Linked DNA regions of Homo sapiens: region 2 is linked to region 1. The links are contacts of gene promoters, found by promoter capture Hi-C in blood cells and fetal thymus (Javierre and others, 2016). All regions are on one chromosome and are shown on one strand. The core of a region is centred on a gene start or on the middle of the fragment in contact, and the rest is flanking DNA. Distances in the headings are between cores, read along the strand shown.

What was found. Contacts are between HindIII fragments. The CHiCAGO score rates a contact against its expected background, and 5 or more counts as called.
Region 2: the fragment with the promoter of E2F7 here is called in contact with the fragment with the promoter of PHLDA1 in region 1 in 1 of 17 cell types (fetal thymus); the score reaches 5.1 in fetal thymus.

The regions. Positions count from the first base shown.
Region 1 is chr12:76,030,526-76,036,432 of GRCh38, forward strand. It overlaps PHLDA1 (pleckstrin homology like domain family A member 1), which reads right to left and starts at 1,251. Exons shown (of 2, transcript NM_007350.3): 1 at 1-1,251. The coding sequence starts at 1,216. The coding sequence ends at 11. PHLDA1-AS1 (PHLDA1 antisense RNA 1) reads left to right here. Exons shown (of 2, transcript NR_186034.1): 1 at 1-69; 2 at 386-853. It overlaps PHLDA1-DT (PHLDA1 divergent transcript), which reads left to right and starts at 1,288. Exons shown (of 2, transcript NR_185978.1): 1 at 1,288-2,277; 2 at 2,739-3,864. RefSeq lists a silencer at 787-936 and an enhancer at 1,157-1,406. The HindIII fragment of the contact is 8,299 bases long and covers 1-5,907 here.
Region 2 is chr12:77,063,861-77,069,697 of GRCh38, forward strand. It overlaps E2F7 (E2F transcription factor 7), which reads right to left and starts at 1,709. Exons shown (of 13, transcript NM_203394.3): 1 at 1,485-1,709; 2 at 683-775. The coding sequence starts at 775. RefSeq lists silencers at 1,549-1,598, 1,619-2,048 and enhancers at 1,657-2,363, 2,099-2,328. The HindIII fragment of the contact is 4,360 bases long and covers 1-2,447 here.

The sequences.
Region 1 (5,907 bases), core at 1-2,500:
GCTGCCCCTTTCAGGCAGAGTTGGAGGTGCTGCGGAGAAGCCGGTGCCCGTGCGGCTGCGAGTGCGGCTGTGGGTGTGGGTGCGGTATTTGGTGCGGATGCGGGTGCGGGTGAGGGTGTGGGTGCGAGTGAGGATGAGAGTGTGGATGTGGATGTGGATGCGGATACGGGTGGAGCTGCTGGGGCTGAGGCTTGGGTTGGGGCTGAGGCTGGGGTTGTGATTGGGGCTGGGGTTGCGGCTGAGGCTGAGGCTGGGGTTGGGGCTGGAGCTGCGGCTGCGGCTGCGGCTGCGAGGGGGGCTGCTGCTGGACCAGGTGCTGCTGCTTCTGCCGCGTGGATTTGACCGCCAGGATGGCCTGACGATTCTTGTACTGCACCATCTGCAGCGTGATCTCGGCGTTCCAGCCCTGGTCTTGCGGGCACCGAAAGTCGATCTCCTTGCCCTCTGCCATCACCACAGTGAAGTACATGTACTTGCCCTTGCGCTCCACACAGTCCACGGTCTTCATGTTGGAGAAGTGCAGTTCCTTGAGCTTGACCGGCGGCTCGAGGCTGGCGACAGCGGGGCCACTGGGTTGGGACGGCTCGGCCGGCCCCTGCCCGGGCTGTTGTTGCTGCTGCTGCTGCTGCTGTTGCTGCTGCTGCTGCTGGTGTTGCAGCTGCTTGGGCGGGATAAGCAGCAGCCCTTCCTCGGTGAGGATGCAACACTTTTTCTTCCAGAGCTGCAACAACCCGTCGCTGCGCTTCTCCAGCACGCCCTCCTTCAGCGCTTTGCAGCCGCTACTCTCCAGCATCCTCCCAGCATAAGAGGGGCCGCCGCTTGGCTCGGCCTCTCCGTTTCCAGCCGCGCGGGCCGGGGGCAGCAGCAGCAGCCTCGCGCCGTCCTCGCCCCAGCGGCTCCCACGGCCGCCTGCCCGGAGCGCGCAGAGGAGGCTAACACGCAGGAGGCAGAGCGGCGGCGGCGGCTCTGGGTCCCGGCAGAGGGACAGCCGCGTCCTGATGCGCCACAAGGTCCCGGAGCTCCGAGCTGCCGGGCCTCTGCCGTCCTCTTGCGAGCGCTCACTGAAGGGCACTGGCCGGGCCCCCTCGCGGCGCTTTTGAATGGGCCATCTTCCCCACCCCCGAGTGACACCCAGCGGAAAAGGCGGCTCCTGGCGCCCGCACCGCGGGGGAAAGCCCAGCTCCAAGAGGCGCTCGGCAGCCGGCGCACGCCTCATTAACTTGGGGCCTTTCCAAAGCCCGCTGCGTCCACGCCCTCCAGCGTCTCTTGCTCCGCCTCTCGCCGCCCACTTGCTTCCGCGCTCGTTCCCCTGGAAGGCGACCCGGACCCGAGCCCCGGAAACTCCTCTCCTCTACCCAGGGCGATCGCCCAAGGAGCCCTGGCTGCCTGACTACTGCCGACGCTCACAGGGCGCTGCGAGGCCATCCCCCGCGTCCCGCTTCTCCCCGGCCCGCGGGACTCTCTGCTAACAGCCTCAGAAAGTGAGGACGGGGGCGCGGAGGCGGGGGCAGCCTCCAGGCAGTGCTGCCTCTCGGTTCTTGGGAATTAGCCCGGGGGATTCGCGCTGGGCTCCGAGAGCCCGCAGAACCAGCGTCGTGTCCTGGGCGAGCTGGGAGGCCGGGGCCGAGTCCCGCGAGTCCCGCGAGTGTGCCTCCCCCGGACGCCTAGGTAAACAACTGAGCGCACAGAGGCCGAGAGGACATCGTGTCTTCCCACGCATATTCGCTCACGGTCACTAAGTAGCTCTTCTTGGAAAGAGGGCGATTGTTAAAGCAATAGTGCGACTGTCGGGCTTGCCACGGGTGGAGAGAGGCGGACCCACGTCAGGTCGCATCTCGCCTGCTTTTCTCGACCCCGACCGCAGGCGCTAACCCGTCTTCGGCTTTCTTCTTGACCCGTACGGTTTGCAACGTCTCTTAAAACAGTAACTCAACTCTCTACAAACCGGGGTAATATCCGGTGCTGAGATCCCACACTGCAAGGCGCAGTTCCAAACGTCTGGTCGGCCTCGCAGGTCCCTCTTTCCAAGGCCTAGCCAGATCTTGGTTTTGGAATCTCATTTATCTGTGACCTGGGGAATGCAATACCCCCAGCTCCCTCCTACTCCTACATTTAAACAATGCCTATAGAAGCCGCTTCCTGGGAAGTAAGGCATAACCGAGACCTAGCCTCCCGGTAGGGAAGTTCATCCGTTTAGTAAACAGCCCCAACTACGTGCGGACCCTCACGGGGATACGAAGAATTCAACCAGGGCTGGACAAGTCAGAGTGGGCCAAGGTAAGAGTTACGGCTGCTACTGTGCCCACGTTGGAACAGATAGATTAGTTCATCTGCTAGTTGTGTGGCAAGAGCAAAGAATTCAAGAGGGGAAGAGAAAGTGAGAGGAGCTTAGAGAGCTAAGCAAGAATCGAATCCTTTGTGTGTCATGGTAAGAAATTCGAACTTAATACCAAGGTAGTCAGAACAAAGGACAACTTTTATACACGAGGGCGTCCTGAATATTCATCTAAGAAACAATGTCTGATCAAACGGGACAATCCAGCCAGCAATCCTGAGTCCCACCGGATTATGCTTGGCCAGCTTTCTAGCCTTCACATTGTTAATTTATTAGCAATCTTTTCAGGAGAAAGGCAATTATTAAAATTATGTGGACTTCTAGTAAAATTATCTCGAAGATTTACAATTATGTATACCAATAACAAAAAAACTACATGTTTTCTGCTCCCCTGCCTTTGTAGGACAAGTGAGCATTCCAGAGAATTTCTACATGACCAGCTGTTCATTCTTTTAAGAGGATGACATTCTTCAGCTCATCTGGAAAGGATACTTCCTTTAAGTCTGTTATTCACAGTCTCCAAGGGCAGGTGTAGTTGGGAAAGACATTTCATATGGAAAAACAAACTTGATAGGGTAAAAAAAAAAAAAATGAGATGTAATCTGGAGGCCCAAGTCATTTTCTTAGGAGAAACTCAAATGTGTTTGGTGTTATCTAACCTTCTGCAGTTTATCAGTCTGAAACAAATGCATTCTATTCTCATTTGAAAATGTCTGAACAGCCACCAATTTTCAAAATCACCCATTTAACTAGAGACTTTAAAGCCCAGAATTTGCAGTTACGTATTTCAGAATGATTTAGTAATTTTGTGAGCAGCTCAGAGGTTAAGTCTACAATGTCTGACTACGGTGCATTATTGAAAATATCAGTAGTGTAAGGATCCCGTAGATTGGTGATAACTTTGCTCTTGTTATTTCAACAGTTACCACCAACAGTTGGTGACTTAACAAATTAAGAGCATAGTTGCCATATGCTCATATTTGGCAAATATGTCAAAATGGCCATATTTGCCAATTTTTAAGACAATAAATTCACAGAAAATGCATTACAGAAAATAACTTAAAAAAAAAAAAAACAACTTTTGGGCCAGGCATGGTGGTTCACACCTGTAATACCAACACTCTAGGAGGCTGAGGTGAGAGGATCCCTTGAGCCCAGGAGTTTGAAACCAACCTGGGCTACATGGCAAGGCCTCCCTCTACAAATGTAAAAAAAAAATTAGCCAGGTGTGGTGGCATGCGCCATGTAGCCCCAGCTACTTGGGAGGCTGAGGTGGAGGACTGTTTGAGCCCAGAAGTTCAAGGTTGCAGGAGCTAGGATCGCACCACTATACAAGCCTGGGTGGCAGCAAGACCCTGTTTAAAAAAAAAAAAAAATTCAGCTGTATATGCAATGAAAACCTACAAGTCACTGAAAAGTTACTGAAGTTTAGAAAACTAGCCAACAAAATCATTGCTTTGGTAAACAAATTTGAAATGGCTAATTGAAAGTACATTTTACAGCTGGCAATATAAAGTTATCTATCAGCAGCACTGGACAGTTCATTTTCTTCTCTTGGATAAAGTTTATCACTTGGCTTCAAGGACATCACTCAGTTTTCCTTTACATCTCCAGTGTCTCCTCTATGAGGTGCTTTCTCTTCTCTCCAAACTTTTAATGTTGGAATGCCCCAAGTCTTTGTCTTTGGCTCTCTTCTTTATCTACACTCATTCCCTTGTTGATATCCAGTCTCATCACTTTTAATAACATCTATATGCCAGAGTCCCAAATTTATACCCCCAACTTATATCCAACTGCTTACTGCCGAAGAATAAAACACTGAAGTTAAAAAATAATAAACATACCAGGCAAGGGAACACTTACTAGTAAAGCCATTTACTGAGTAGTTCACTAAAGGTTTAAGTCTGAGGGGATTTTAGGTCATAGGAAAAAAAAAAAAAAACTGAAAAAGAACACTCGGATGGTCAGAGGAGTCTGTAATTCATACACAATAGGTTTTAACAAATTCCTACATGGAACTGCTCCAGTTTATAGGTTAGAATTAACTATAGTGAAAAACAGCCTTCAGTTTTTATCAATTCCAGGCCAGTGAGTGCTACTATAAGTTGAAAATTCTCCATTTACACTTCTCTACAGTACGGCTTGTGTAGTCTAAGAAATCAAACATGTGAATGAGCTCCCAAACTATTTTCCTCACTCTAACCTACTCTACCTGCAGCCCCCTTTCTCAGTTGACAGCAATCCTCTGTACAGATGCTCAAACTAAAAACCGTAGATCAGTACTGCCCTTACACCAGGCCAGGAAAGGCCCTTATCCAAGGCCCTGAGCTTTAGGATTGAGTGCTTTAGAGTCAAGATGACATGTCAATCTAGAGAGCATACTCATTCTGCACTACACTCTAGGTACTCAAGACCCCAAATACCCTGCCCAGAATAGCCCCAGCTGTTCCAGGAAATGCATTACATCATCATTGCATGCACTGATGTGTTAGGGGGATAGGGCAGTTCGAATATACTGGTTATGGCATCCAAGTAAATGTGCAGGAGGCCCCTTGCCATACAGTTCAGAGCCGGGGTGGGAAGAAAAGGAAGGTGGCTCATGGGCTGAGGGTCAGCTCTGCCCGCAAGTTATATTCTGGCATAAATACAAACCTGGCTTCCCAGTTCTAATGAAAGTTTGTCAAGACAGGCACATTGGGCATATTTTCATTAAACAGTACTTTTAAATATTTAAACATACGGTATCTCCATTGTACTCTTGCCCCAGGCCTTCAAGTGTGTAGAATCATGCCTGCCTTGTAGTAATTTTTTTCTCTCCCAATATTTAATCTACACATTTAGTCAGGAAATCCTACTGGTTAGGCCTTCAACTACATCTGGATTCTGTCCACTTCCTTCATTACCACCCTGATCCAAATCACCATCATATCCCCCCACTGGATTACTATGATGGCCTCCTAACTTGTCTCCCTGATTCTATCCTTGTTATCTATTTTCAGCATAGCACCCAAAGTTATCTCCATCACTTTCTTCAAGTCTTGGCTCAACAGGCCTATCCTGATCACTCTCAAATGGTAGCCACTCAATTCCCCTTAATTTTTCCCATAGCATATATTATCTTCTAACATGCTACTCAATAATTTATTGTACCTATTGCTTATTTCTGTTCCCCTTCCCACTAGAATAGTATGCAAGCTATTCAAGAGGGCAAGGACCATTGTTTCTGATGTGTCCCAATCACCTAGAAAAAGTCTTGATACCAAGTAGATGCTCAACATAGGTAGAAATCTTGAATTGAATTAGAAGTCCATACCCATCATAAAAAGAATATCAATTTTTTCAAATGCTTTTGACAGATTTTTCATGATGCATCCTACTTTTTAAAACTTGAGATGTAAGGACTTGAAATTTGCCCTACAAACATATCTCTGGTATACTTTTTAAATGGATAACTACATGCTAGGCCTCTCTGAATCTTAAATGCTTTTATAGTCAGACATCTAAAATAAATCCCACAAACCTTTTCCCAAGCAACATGCAATTTAATATCATGAGAGGTGTTTATATAAACT
Region 2 (5,837 bases), core at 459-2,958, 1.0 Mb after region 1:
AAAACTTGGTTTGTTATTTCTATTTGCCTGTGCCTAAAAATGCTCAGATAGTTTAGACATTGTTATGGCCAGTTTACTTTGTAATGTTCTTGAAAACAACATCTTGGTCTTACAAATCACAAGGGGTGCAAAATGTAAGGGAATGGCTCAGTGCAAAACTAGCAACAGTATGGTAAAATATTCAGAATATACTGATGAGTTCAGCCACTTTATCTCCCTATATAGTAGGCACAGGTCTACTCTTGGGTGAATGGAACAGTCTCTGGGAGCTAGTTCATTGGTATGAAGACATTTCACAGCACTTTAATAATCCAGCATTTATGCCTGCAAAGGTCTATTTTCCTGGGAACTGAGGCTTAGCATTCCTACAGAGCACTAGCTACACCACCCTTGACAACTGTATTATAAACTTTGATTGCTGTAGCCAGCATATTTTTGACTTATATAAATTGGTTACAACATTACATGTAACCTTGCCTATTTTTCCCACTATATCTGAGAGTAGAATTCCAACAATAATGGTTTGGATGGCTCTATTTTTAAAAAAGAATGTTTCTATAATGTTTATCAATATTAATTATTATGCTTAAATACAAATACAAATGGCATGTTGGAACACTTAATTGAATTCAACATCACCATCCTTAACATATTAGAAACTAAGGTGTTTATGTTTGCTTACCTTTTGTGCATTTTCCCCATCTTCAACTGCAAAATCTAGTCTGGGCTGCCTGGGGCTGATCAGGTCTTTTAGTGTTAAACAATTTACCTCCATCTGTAATGCACAATTACACTAGAAAATGATTTTGCAATTAGGTATTTTTTCCTCAAACAAAAATATCTACATATGTGTTACTTGTTTGTCAATATGAAATTCCCCCTTCTCTAAGCACATCCTGGGCATTTCCAGGAGTTGTAGCCACCCTCAACTTTCTAAAACTCACGCGAACAAACTCAAACACCTAAAGTGTGCTTAGTAATACTGAAAATCTGGGAAGAAAAAAATCTACAAAAATAGTAACTCCTTATGAAAAGCTAGATGGCAAAATAAAGTTACCAAGTCGGAAGGGTGTTGGGCAAATCTGTCAGAAAAGTACAGGGTCTCCCAGGTCAGTTAATTTTGGCGCAAAGAACTGAGAGGAATTCGGCTTTGAGGGGTTTTGAATCGGGGGAAGGAAACCCGATCGCTAGACCAAACCCACTCAGCGCTGAGCGCAGCCCCTTCCCAGGCCTCCAAGCAGATCCCCCAAATAAACTTCTCCAATGAAAGCTCCAAGTTGTGGGGAAGGGCAAATCCCCTCTACTGCCGGGCCGGAGTGAGAGCTGCACCCGGCACACCCTCTGCGCACCGGGTTCCCCGGCAGAAACACCTCGAGCCCTCGCCAGCCGGGGGACGTGAGGAGTGGCAGGCTGGCAGCCGGGGCGGGAGTGGGCCCTGTATCCCAATTCCCGCCTCCCCACTGGCGCTGGGGCCGCACGCTTACCCCTGCTTTCCTAAGGAGGCTTCCTGCCTCTGCAGGGACCTCCACGGACCCAAGCCGATGAGGGAAGGTGGTGCGGCGATCAGCAGCCGGGCGGCGGCATCGGGAAGGGAGAGCGAGGCGCGCAGATCCCCGCGCCGAGTGCCCTGGGCTGGCGGGGACCCCGCGGCGTCCGGGCAGCGCCAGCGCTCAGACCGGCCGAGCGCAACTCCAGCCTGGATCGTAGTCCCCGCTAAAACACCTCCTCTGGCGCCTTGAGACCGAATTTGAGAATCCACCAATCAGCGGCGGCCGGCGGGGCGGCCCCGGCCAATCGTGCGGCGGCACGGCCCGGGCTCACCGCCCCTCGGAGTCTTGGCGCTCCGAGCCGCGCGTTTTGCCCTCACCCGCCCAATTGTTGCCGCCTCGGCCCCCTCCCCCTTCCGGGTACCTGGAAACCTCGGGCCCGGGAGCCAATTCCTGCTGGGGACGCGGGCCCCGGCGGCCGCGGGAAGCCAAGGTGGGGGCGGCGCGGGGCGGCGCGGGGCGGCGGGAGAAGGAAGAGGAGGAGGAGGGCTCTTTTGTTATGCATAGAAGACCCGCGCACGTCCCCGCGGCTTGCCGCGCCCGGGGACCCCGGGCACAGCCAGAGGACAGGAAAGCAGATGGGGTTTGGAAGAACGATCTACACCCTCTGGATGCTGCTGCCGCCATCCCCGCCCGCCCTCAGCAACCTGTGCGGAAGCGGAGTTGTCCAGACTTGCCGGGGCAAACTTCTTAACATCGCACGCTGGTGTGACACATGAACCATGGTTACCGCTCTGCTGCGAGCAGATGGCACGCCAGTTAGCCCTGGAGACAAGACTGGAAGCCAAACCAGAAGTTTTTCTAACTTTTTTTTGTTTGTTTGTTTTGTGTGTGTGGCAAATCCGGAAATGTTTTTTGGTGTTCCCTTTTCGGCAAATTGCAAATAATTAGGAGGGAAAAAGCTTTATATAAAAAAGTAGTTCTTTGCAATAGGGACTAGCATTCTGGGAGACAGTCTAGAAAATTTCCTCAACACCACTGATCTGTATTAAATGTTTCACTTCTTTCATCCTACAGTTTCTTGTTTAAAATATGAATGTTGGTAGAGATGGACTTTTTACAAAACAGACTTTATTGTTTAGAAGTTTTCAATTTACAGAAAAATTGAGATAGTACCAAGAATTCCCATATATTCAGCACCCAATTTCACCCACTATTAACATTTTGTGTTAGTATAGAATATTTTTTGAAATTAATGATCTAATATTGGTACATTCTTCTGAGCTCAAGTCATTACTTTATTCAGATTTACTTAATTTTTTCCTAATGGCCCTTTTTTCTGTTCAGGATACCACATTACCTTTAGTTCCTATGTCTCTAGGCTCCTCTTGGCTATGACAGTTTCTCATACTTTCCTCATTTTTGATACCTGGACATTTTTGAGTAGTATTGGTCAAGTATTTTGTAAGATATCCCTCAACTGAAATGTGAGACAGCCTTCTTAAAGCATCAGACATTCTTAAATGTACAGACATGTCCCTACCCCCCATCTACTTTACAGCAAAGGTATCATTTTCCTTTCTATACCAAGACTCCATTCTTCACCACTTACCCTCCAAATATTTTTATTTTATTTTATTTTTGGAGACGGAGTCTTGCACTGTCACCCAGGCTAGAGTGTAGTGGCCCAATCTCGGCTCACTGAAACCTCCACCTCCTGGGTTCAAGCGATTCTCTGCCCCAGCCTCCCGAGTAGCTGGGACTACAGCCGTGCGCCACCACGCCCAGCTAATTTTTGTATTTTTAGTAGAGATGGGGTTTTGCTGTGTTGGCCAGGTTGGTCTCGAACTCCTAACCTCAGGTGATCTGCCTGCCTGCCTTGGCCTCCCAAAGTGCTGGGATTACAGGTGTGAGACACCGTGCCCGGCCTCAAATACATATATTTTAAATGAACTCTCAGCAGAATTCAGAATGCTCAATCAAGTCCTTCACTTCGTACTCTAGATTGCTGGTAAATACGGCCTAAAAAAAAAAAAATCACTGCTAGGTCATACATTGAAAAGAGAAAAGTATGCAAAACATTAAACAAAAGAAAATAGTAATAAAAATCTGACATTTTTTATAGGAATAACATTTTGAACTGAAATCTCTTTTGTAGGTAGAAACCTAATGAGAAGTTTAAACAATAAAAAATTGCAACTTATTAAATTTTGCACATATGTGGAAGCAGAAGTTTAGATAAGGAAATACTTTTCCCAACAGTATTCATTTTCTATGGCTGTTGTAACAAATTACAACTGGCTTATAAGGACAGAGATTTAGTCTCTCACAGTTCTGGAAAGTTAAGGTATTCCCAGGGCCACACTCCCTCTGGGGCTCTTGTCCTTTTCCTCTTCCAGTTTCTGGTGGCTGTTAACAGTCCTTGACACGTGGCAGCCTCACTCCAATTTCTACCTCCATAGTTACGTTGCTTTCTCTTTTGTCTGTTAAGTCTCTCCTGTGTGTCTCCTATGAGGACACCTGTCAATGAATTTAGGTCCCACCTGGATAGTCCAGGATGATCTCATCTTGAGATCTTCAATTTAATTGCATCTGGGAAGATCCTCTTTCCAGAGTAACATTCCTTCATGGGTTCTGGGGATTAGGACATGGATACACCTTTTTGGGGCCCACCATTCAGCCTTCTAGACCAACATTCAAATTATTAAAGTCCATTCATTTCTCTGATATTTCAAAATACTAATGATCGTTTCTTTGAGGTTAGACAGTTTCACGGTACAGGGCTTTTCCTAACATTTTTAGAGTAAAAGTACTTTTTCTATTTTGATACAAATGTAATTTCTATTCAAGTTACAAAAAAAACTCAGTTGGATACATCACTTCAGGCACTTATAATTTCATTGATTATAAGAGTTATCTTAGATTTGGAGGAAAACTGAAAAATAAATGTTTGATGGACAAATTCAGAGACATTATTCCAACACACTTATTTATATTGATGTTTTTAAGTCCCAGAATGCATACATAACCTGTTAATCTCTCGGTAATTCAGTTGACACTGATGTTGGCTGGGAACTAGGCTGGAGTATCAAGAAGAGTCTCGACATGTGACCTCTCCATATGGCCTGGTCTAGATATCCTGGTAGCTCAAGGTAGTTGGACTTCTTCCAGGGTGGCTCCTGGGATCCAAAATGAATGTGTCATGTAGCAAAGTGGAAATAGTATCACCTTTTGTGACGTAGCCTAAGAACTGATAGCATCAATTCCACTACAGTTTTTGGGAGGAAACAGTCAAAAATCCATCCACATTCAAGGGGAGAAGACATATACCTCACTCTCAATGGGAGAAGTGTCAAAGAATTTGGGGCCATATTTCTCTCTCTCTCTCTCTCTCTATATATATATATATATGTGTGTGTGTGTGTGTGTGTGTGTGTGTGTGTATATATATATATATATATATATATATAAAAATAAGTTCTGGGATACATGTGCAGAACATGCAGGTTTGTTACATAGGTATACACGTGCCATGGCATGGTGGTTTGCTGCACCCATCAACCGGTCATCTACATTAGCTATTTCTCCTAAAGCTACCCCTCCCCTTGCTACCCCTACCCCTCCCCTTGCCCCCTACCCCATGACAGGCCCTGGCATGTGATGTTCCCCTCCCTGTGTCCATGTGTTTTCATTGTTCAACTCCCATTCGTTAGTGAGAACATGTGGTGTTTGGTTTTCTGTTCTTGTATTAGTTTGCTGAGAATGATGATTGCCAGCTTCATCCATGTCCTGGCAAAGGACATGAACTCATCCTTTTTTATGGCTCCATAGTATTCCAAGGTGTATAAGTGCCACATTTTCTTTATCCAGTCTATCACTGATGGGTATTTGGGTTGGTTCCAAGTCTCTGCTATTGTGAACAGTGCTGCAATAAACCTCTTCATGTGTCTCCATAGTAGAATGATTTATAATCCTTTGGGTATATACCCCAGTAATGGGATTGCTGGGTCAAATGGTATTTCTGGTTCTAGATCCTTGAGGAATTGCCACACTGTCTTCTACAATGGTTGAACTAATTTACACTCCCACCAACAGTGTAAAAGCATTCCTATTTCTCCACATCCTCACCAGCATCTGTTGTTTCCTGACTTTTTAATGATCACCATTCTAACTGGCATGAGATGGTATCTCATTATGGTTTTTATTTGCATTTATCTAATGACCAGTGATGAGGAGCATTTTTTCATATGTCTGTTGGCTGCATAAATGTCTTCTTTTGAGAAGTGTCTGTTCATATCCTTTGCCCACTTTTTGATGGGGTTGTTTGTTTTTCTCTTCAACATATTTTAA